Linked DNA regions of Homo sapiens: region 2 is linked to region 1. Evidence: promoter capture Hi-C in 16 types of primary human blood cells and fetal thymus (Javierre and others, 2016). All regions are on one chromosome and are shown on one strand. Each heading gives the region's core, a stretch centred on a gene start or on the middle of the fragment in contact. The rest is flanking DNA. Distances are from core to core; before and after follow the strand shown.

Region 1 (4,185 bases), core at 1,035-3,534:
CGACAGAGTGAGAATCCATCTCCAAAAAAAAAAAAAAGGCTTCATGGTATTAGATTTTTAGATATACATACCATAATTTTATCTCATTGAGGGCAAAGAAAACTATCTACTGCTATCCTCCTGTACTTAATGTGCTCTTTATTCATTCAGCATTATATACTTAATTTATGTAAGGCACTGACATCTCCAAGTCCTGACACACAGTAGCCACTTAAGTATTTGCTGAATGAAAGAAAGTATACTCTTTAAAGAGTTTCGTCTATCTAGTTAGGGGAAAGATATGTAAACAAAGTATCACAAAATAGCAGGTCTAAAGGCCACATAGCATGCGTAAGAGTATGACAGCCTTTGAGTGCGCTGCCTTGAGGAACTGGGGTAAAAAAAAGCTTTACCACTGTTAAAGGAAAAATATGAAGAGGGCAAAAGAATAAAACACACTTTAAGAATTTTATAGGTGTGTCTGGTGGGGGATGGTAGGAAACAGGTAAGAAGAATAAGGGAGCTCTTTTAGGCTTGTGGCTTTAAGTATCATCTCTAAATGGATGACTCCTAAATTGTTATTTTCTGGTCAGACTTCTTTCCTGAGCACCAGATTTTTATATGACATCTCTTCAATATCTAAAAGGCAACATAAATATTAACATATCCACAAGGAGTTCTCAATTCCACATCCCTCGTAAGAACAGTCTTCCCTAGAGTTCCCCCACTTCAATAAATAAAATCACCATTTAACTATGTATTTATATCCCAAATCCTTTGATTTCTTCCTTTTCTTCTTCACTTAATCCATCACCAAAGTCTTGTCAATTATACTGACGTAAAAGGTCTCAAATTCATCAATTTCTTTTCATCTCCACCATTAAATTACTACCTTAGGCGAAGCCACTTTCGTTTTTAAAAAAATTTATTTACTTTAGAGATAGGGTCTCTCTGTCACCCAGGCTGGAGTGCAGTGGTGCCATCATAGCTCACTGCAGCCTCGGACTTTTCGGCTCAAGTAGTCCTTCTGCCTCAGCCTTCGAAGTAACTGGGACCTCAGGCGAACACCACCGCGCCCAGCTAATTTTTTATTTTTTGTAGAGATGGAGTCTCACTTTATTGCCTAGGCTGGAATCGAACTCCTGGCCTCAAGCGATCCTCCAGCCCCAGCCTCCCAAAGCGTTGGGATTACAGGCATGAGCCACTGTGTCTGGCTTGAAGCAACCTTTGTCATACCCTAGTCTCCTTGCTTTCATTTTTTCCCTCCAAAAGTCCTTCACACAGCAACTAGACAACTTTTCACAAACATAGATCATTAAAAGGCCTAAAAAACACTTCCTACAAGATTCTGCATGACCTCGCCCTGGCAAGCATATCTAATTTCATTACCTGTCTTACATTGTCACTTTGATGACCCTTATATTCATTCTCTCATATCTTCAACTCTTTGTACTTTACTGTTCCTACTGCCTGGATTGCTTTTTCCTCAGCTCCTCAGTGACTGGCTTATTCTTATCTTTTAGATCTCAACTCAAACATCTTCTGTTCAGAGAAACCTTCCCTGAGTAACCCTATCTGAAGTGTCCTTCATCATCTCTGGTCTTTCTTTCATAGTATGATTATATAGTGTAATTGTTAACTTATTTGTTCACTTGTTTACTGTGTCTCCCCCATCAGTGTTCCAGGAGAGGTGGGACATTTTTTCTGGTTAACCAAATCCTCAATAATTACCACAATGCCTGGCACACTGTAAGCACACTGTTATTTCTCCAACAAAAAACTCAATGAATGAATCTAGGATACTTCCGAAATTATGACTTAGGCAGAAGTAGAGCAAATGTAAAGAAAAGCCTACACAGGAAACGCAGATGGAAGAGTAACGCGCACATGGATGAGAAGGACGCTTAAACTTGGAGTCAGCTTCGCCAAATCCCGGGCCGCCCCCCACCCCAAGTCCGGAGCTGACAGCTGACAGCTGACAGCATGACGCGACGTCCTGCATTGGTAGGCACGAAGGACGGGACACATCGACCCCATGGGCTGAGGTGACGGAGTCCTGTGCTCACAACCCGGCCGGGGCAGCGGGCAGTAAACCCCTGCTAGACACGCGTGAGAACCTATGTTGGAAAATCGGGGTTCCGGAAGCCTCACATCCAGAGCGGCACGAGGCAACAGACCCGCTGCGTACGCGTTTTCTAAGTGTCCGAAAATGGGCAAAATTCCCTGCGCAAACCCCGGGTGTAAGAACAACCGGAGGAGACTCACATCATCCGACTGCATGGTGTCCGCGGCTCAGCGTGCAACTTCCGGTCGGATCGCGGGCGCAGACATGCTCCTTCCGGGAAACCAGTTCCGGAACGCGCAGCCTCACCTATCTCGAGAAACGCTGAGACTCTCGGTGTTGCGAAGCGTCCCCTGGCAGTCTCGTCGCCGCGCGCGCGCCCCCGCGTCTTCACCACGCTGGCGTCTGCGCGCGCCCGTCCGCAATGCTGGGCTTGTTCATGGGCGCAGCCTGGAGCTGGGAACCCTGTTGGGACCCAGTGCGATCCGCGGGAGGCAGGACGCGCGCAGTCTGCCGAATCCTGGAGCGCGGGGACCGCGGGGGTCGGGCGTGCTTCCCTAGCGCCCTGTTTGTGACCGTTCATGAGGATGGGACCCCTCCCTGTCGGGCCTCCCCTCTGCTGGGAGGAGGCTGGGGAAAGCTGCAGGCGGCGCGGCGGGGCTGGGTCCCCGCTCCTCCGAGTCCCCCGGCCCCAGCTCGCAGCCAGGCCCCGGCCCTGCCCCTCAGACCCTGACTTAGCCACTCCCCACGCCCACGTTGGGTGCGGCACCGGGTCCTGACTTTAGAAACTCAGAACTTGAATTCCTCCTGCTTTGAGAAACCACTGACCAAATGGAAAGAGCATTCCAATAATAATAAACACCTGTGTCTTCCTCATTGCCTATTTGAGACAACAAACAAAGTTGATAAGGGAGGGAAAATACCAAGAAGAAAAGTAGAGGTCTAATAACCCACAAAAACAAATCTGGAAGCCTAACAGCTCTTTTCCGCCAGGGGAAAAAGAAAATCTTTACTAGTTTGTATCGTATTATAGAAGAAAGACTGTCGGCCGGGCCGGGCGCGGTGGCTCTCGCCTGTACCTCAGCACTTTGGGCGGCCTAGGCGGGCGAGTTCCAGACCAGCCTGGCCAACATAGTGAAATCCCGTCTCTACTAAAAATACAAAAATTAGTCGGGCGTGGTAGCAGGTGCCTGTAATCCCAGCTACTTGGGAGGCTGAGGCAGGAGAATCGCTTGAACCCGGGAGGCGGAGGTTGCAGTGAGCCGAGATCATGCTGTGGCCCTCCAGCCTGGGTGACAACCAAAACTACCTCTCAAAAAAAAAAAAAGAAAAAGAAAAAAGAAAAGGAAAGAAAGACTGTCAAGAGGCATTTGAACCAGAGCAACCCCATCTTGAATAGTGGCTGGGTAAAATAAGGCTGAGATCTGCTAGGCTGCATTCCCGAGGGTCAGGCCATCTAAATCACAGGATGAGGTCAGCACAAAATACAGGTCATAAGGATGTTGCTGATAAAACAGATTGCAGTAAAGAAGCCAGTCAAGACCCACAAAACCAAGATGGCAATGAGTTTGACCTCTGGTCGTCCTCACTGCTACACTCCCACTGGCGCCACAAATGCCATGGCAACATCAGGAAATTACTCTATATGGTCTAAAAAGGAGAGGCGTAAGTAATCCGCTCCGTGTTTAGCATATAATCAATAAATAGGCTGGGCTTGGTGGCTCACGCCTGTAATCAGCATTTTGGGAGGCCGAGGCAGGTGGATCACCCGAGGTCAGAAGTTCAAGACCAGACGGGCCAACGTGGTGAAACCCCATCTCTACTAAAAATACAAAACTTAACCAGGCGTGGTGGTGGGCACCTGTAGTCCCCGCTACTTGGGAGGCTGAGGCAGGAGAATCACTTGAATCTGGGAGGCAGAGATTACAGTGAGCTGAGATCAAGCCGCTGCACTTCAGCCTGGGCAACAGAGCAAGAATCAGTCTCAAAAAATACATGAACAAATAGCGATAAAAATGGGCAACCAGCAGCCCTCGGTGCCGCTCTGCCTATGCAGTAGCCATTCTTTCATTCCTTTACTTTCTTAATAAGCTTGCTTTCACTTTACGAAACTTATGGACTCACCTCAAATTCTTTCTTGCTTA
Region 2 (4,185 bases), core at 771-3,270, about 21 Mb before region 1:
CCGGCCCAAGTCCTGCGGATTGGTCCACTTTACAGAACACTGATTAGCCCGTTTTACAGGGTACTGATTGGTGCATTTTACAAACCTCTAGCTAGCCACAAAGTGCTGATTGGTGCATTTTACAATCCTAGCTACAGAGTGCTGTTGGTACATTTTACAATCCTCTTGTAAGACAGAAAAGTTCTCCAAGTCCCCAACCGACCCAGAAGACCAGCTGGCTTTACCTCTCACTTAAACCTGTACTGTGTCAATATCCGTACATCAGTAAGTGTTGTCGATCAAGTTAGGGAAGTAGTGGATTTCTGGTGACAAATGTTACCCTTTCCAACTAAAGTTTAAAGAAGGTAAGTTGAACCCAAATCTACATACTGCTGTAGCCCCAAACGGAAATACTGCAAAAGCTCCATCAACGTCTCCCAGTCCATCCAGACTTTTACAAATGGATAGACCCCGGCCGCAGGAAACCAAGGAGCACCTGGGGTTGGGTTGGGTGAATTGGCTCTGGGGCTCATTCTTTTCACTACAGCGCCAGAAAAGCAAAAACCTAAACCAAGACCCAAGAGACCAGCCCTCAGCCTGCACCTGAGAGCACATTTTCCCTAGCCAGCACTGAGCATGCGCAGGCTGCGTGGTGTGGCGAAAGCGCAGCCAGGTCCGCGCTGCCGCCGCAGCCAATCGGAGGGAGGGAGCCGCCCGGACATTGTGAGGTGCCGAGGGAGGGGCGGCGGGCGAGGGGCAGGGCAGGGCGGACCCTGGACGCGCGGGCGCGCGCGGAAGGTAGCGCGGGGCCGCGTTGGCGCGCACGCGCCTGAGCGTGCGCCCGGTGGGGCCGGCCGGGACTCGCCGCTCGCACGCCCTTGGGCCGCGGCCGGGCGCCCGCTCTTCCTTCCGCTTGCGCTGTGAGCTGAGGCGGTGTATGTGCGGCAATAACATGTCAACCCCGCTGCCCGCCATCGTGCCCGCCGCCCGGAAGGCCACCGCTGCGGTGAGTGGCGTAGGCGTGGGCTCGGAGGGGTCCACTGGGCCGGCCACCGGTGGTTGCCCCTCGCGCGGGGTGGGCGTTGCGGGCGCGTGGCGGCCTGCGGACGAGGACGCTCCTCCCGGCCCGGGTGGGGTGCGAATGGTCCGCGCGGCCGGGTCCGCGGGGGGCGGGGGCAGCCGGGGGGTCACAGCCGGCGCGAGGGCCAGTCCCCAGCTCCTCCCTGCATTGCGGAGGAAGTGTGGCCCCGGGACCCCCGCGGGCCGGCCTAGGGCACGGCGTCAGCCTCTGCAGCGTGTTTCTGCCTGGTGTGTGGGTGAGGGAAACCTAAGTCCGCCAGGAAATCGCCTTATTGTCACCTCGCACTCTTATCCTCAATGAAAGAAGTTTGAAGATTGAGTGTCCTACAAGGTCAGACGTACTGTTTTTTAGAAAACTCGTGTATGAAAAGTCAAACTTATTTTTGCCTCCGGAAGCTTGCTTTTGCAGTGGAAAAATTCTACAGGATATGTGAGATGTTCCTGATTTCACTTGAAAGAGATAAACTGTTTTTCTTAGAATGTGATCATTTGCACTCAATGTCTAACTGGGACCTCTCAGTGCTACCCCCCCCCCATTCATTATCTCAGGAAATAAAGGGAGAAGTTGATCAGAATTTTTGCCATTTAAAAGAGGTCGATAAAGATTAAGTCGCCGAAGATAGTGTTGTGTAATTCTCTCGTAGGTTTCGTTCCGTTTTCCACCTTAAGCAAAGCTAGTGTGTAACAATCCTGTGTGGGCTTATTTAGGCATTGCTTATTAATTTTCCTCTTCTCTTATAGGTGATTTTCCTGCATGGATTGGGAGATACTGGGTAGGTACCATTATTATTAATAGTAACAGTAATGAAACTGGGTCATGCAACTTTTGTTTACGCGTTCAAAGGTTTAATGTTTAAGGGCGCTAAAATGGTATTTTAAGATTGCCAGTTAATGTATCTTACAGTGCGGTGATTTTATGTTTTGAAAACCCTCAGAATTTTCCCCTTATCATCGTGAGTTTATTGATTTTTTAACTCTGGTTTCTGGAACATATTAAAATTTCAAATTCCTCATTAGTTGCTTTGGGTATTGGATACCAGAGATCCGTGGAATGTTAGTAGGGACGGTGTGCAATTGAGAGCTTTCCAGAGCAGTTAAAATTTCAGAGCAGATTGAAGAGAAGAACTAGTTGATTTTGATAAGAGAACTAGTGGCAACATAAGGCATGCAGCATTCTGAATAGAGGGATTAGATGTTCACTCTAATGAGTTGAAAGGCAGGGGAGGCAACTCAAAGATTTATTTGGAGGCTTATCAAACAATTTGTTGTACTAACTACTTATTTTTATTTTATTTTTTGTTTGTTTGCTTTTTTCTTTTGTTATTATTTTTAGAGACAAGGGCTCTCTCTGTCGCCCAGGCTGGAGTGCAGTTGCAGGATCTTAGCTCACTGCAGCTTTGAACTCCTGGGCTCAAGTGATCCTTCAGCCTCAGCCTCTCAAAGCACAGAGATTAGAGGTGGGAGCTGCCTGAGCCTGGCCTTTTGTACTAACTTTAGATACATGATTTATCTTTTACTCAAGCTTTTTCTATATTGAGATGTTTTTGTTTTTATATTTAAATTGGTGATAATCTGTGAAACTTAAGCAAAATATGAATGTTGTTGAAAAATTGCAGAAATAGAGGAAAACTGAAGATAAATAAATTTTGATAAAGTAGCCCCAGAACGACTAAATTTTCTTTAAAATGAACCATTGGGGCCGGGCGCGGTGGCTCACACCTGTAATCCCAGCACTTTGGGAGGCCGAGGTGGGTAGTTCACTTGATGTCAAGAGTTCGACACCAGCTTGGCCAATATGGTGAAACCCCATCTCTACTAAAAATATAAAAATTACCCGGGTGTGGTGGTGCATGCCTGTAATCCCAGCTGCTAGGGAGGCTGAGAGAAGAGAATCACTTGAACCTGGGAGGCAGAGGCTTCAGTGAGCCAAGATTGCACGACTGCACTCCAGCCTGGGCCACAGAGTGAGACTCAAAAAAAAAAAAAATGCCATTAGGCTAGATTTTTGTTTGTTTGTTTGGAGACAGGGTCTGCTGTGTTGCCCTGGCTGGAGGGCAGTGGCGTGATCTTGACTCACTGCAACCTCCACCTTCTGGGTTCCTGGGTCTCCCGAGTAGCTGGGACTACAGTTGCTTGCCACCATGCCAGCTAATTTTTGTATTTTTAGTAGAGACAGAGTTTTGCCATGTTGGTTACGCTGGTCTCGAACTCCTGACCTCAAATGATCCACCCACCTGAGCCTCCCAAAGTGCTGGGATTACAGGCGTGAGCCACCACTTAAAAGTGATTCCTATTTTTTGCCTAATAAGTCGAGTTATGTAATACAAACTTTGTATGGAGTTACAGAAAAGGTTGCAGCACTCTTTCTGGCAATCCAGTGGTCCTGTGAAAATGATGAACTTATTTTACCAAATGAAACTCGAATAGCAGAATCTCTATTTTATGGCCAAACCTTTCTTGATGTTGCAAGTCAGGGAGAAGGTTGCTATCCTCTAACTTTGCCAATAATGAGCACTTCTATGCCTGAATGATTAGTTCAAGCAAAAAAAAAAAAACTTCAGTCTAGGCAGATTCCACAGACTGAAGCTAAAAGTAAAAATGGTGAAGACTATTAGGATCAAAAATACCAAGAACATCCATTACATCTTGACCAAAAGTTAAGTTTATATTAAAAAAGTATCCTTCTTTTTAACCTGTTGTGATAAAAGAAAAAACAAAGGTCTCCAGTTCTGAAATTATTTGGTGGGATAATGCTAAGGAAAGGCTGACTCTAGATTGGTTCCATGAGTGCATGATGAAACTTCGAACCTGTCAGCCTGACAAGTGGCAATTTAATACTTAAGATATTGTAGTCTCCCCTTACCTGCAGTTTTGCTTCCCATGGTTTCAGTTACCCGTGGTTAACTGTGGTTTGAAAATACTAAATGAAAAATTCCAGAAATACTTTATAAGTTTAAAATTGTACACCATTCTTTTTTATTTATTTTATTATTATTTTTTGAGATGGAGTCTCACTCTGTCACCCAGGCTGGAGTGCAGTGGCACGATCTCGGCTCCCTTCAACCTCTGCCACTCGGGTTCAAGTGATTCTTGTGCCTCGGCCTCCGGCGTAGCTGAGATTACAGG

What was found. Contacts are between HindIII fragments. The CHiCAGO score rates a contact against its expected background, and 5 or more counts as called.
Region 2: a contact is called between a fragment that was not itself captured here and the fragment with the promoter of MAK16 in region 1, in 1 of 17 cell types (non-activated CD4 T cells). The highest score is 6.7, in non-activated CD4 T cells.

Annotation. Positions count from the first base shown.
Region 1 is chr8:33,483,281-33,487,465 of GRCh38, reverse strand. MAK16 (MAK16 homolog) reads right to left here and starts at 2,284. Exons shown (of 10, transcript NM_032509.4): 1 at 2,245-2,284. The coding sequence starts at 2,259. RefSeq lists silencers at 2,277-2,464, 2,675-2,864 and enhancers at 2,355-2,504, 2,492-3,128. The HindIII fragment of the contact is 3,746 bases long and covers 389-4,134 here.
Region 2 is chr8:54,098,555-54,102,739 of GRCh38, reverse strand. It overlaps LYPLA1-TCEA1 (LYPLA1-TCEA1 readthrough), which reads left to right and starts at 793. Exons shown (of 21, transcript NM_001425842.1): 1 at 793-985; 2 at 1,801-1,832. It overlaps LYPLA1 (lysophospholipase 1), which reads left to right and starts at 793. Exons shown (of 9, transcript NM_006330.4): 1 at 793-985; 2 at 1,801-1,832. The coding sequence starts at 917. RefSeq lists a silencer at 670-1,239. The HindIII fragment of the contact is 1,126 bases long and covers 1,458-2,583 here.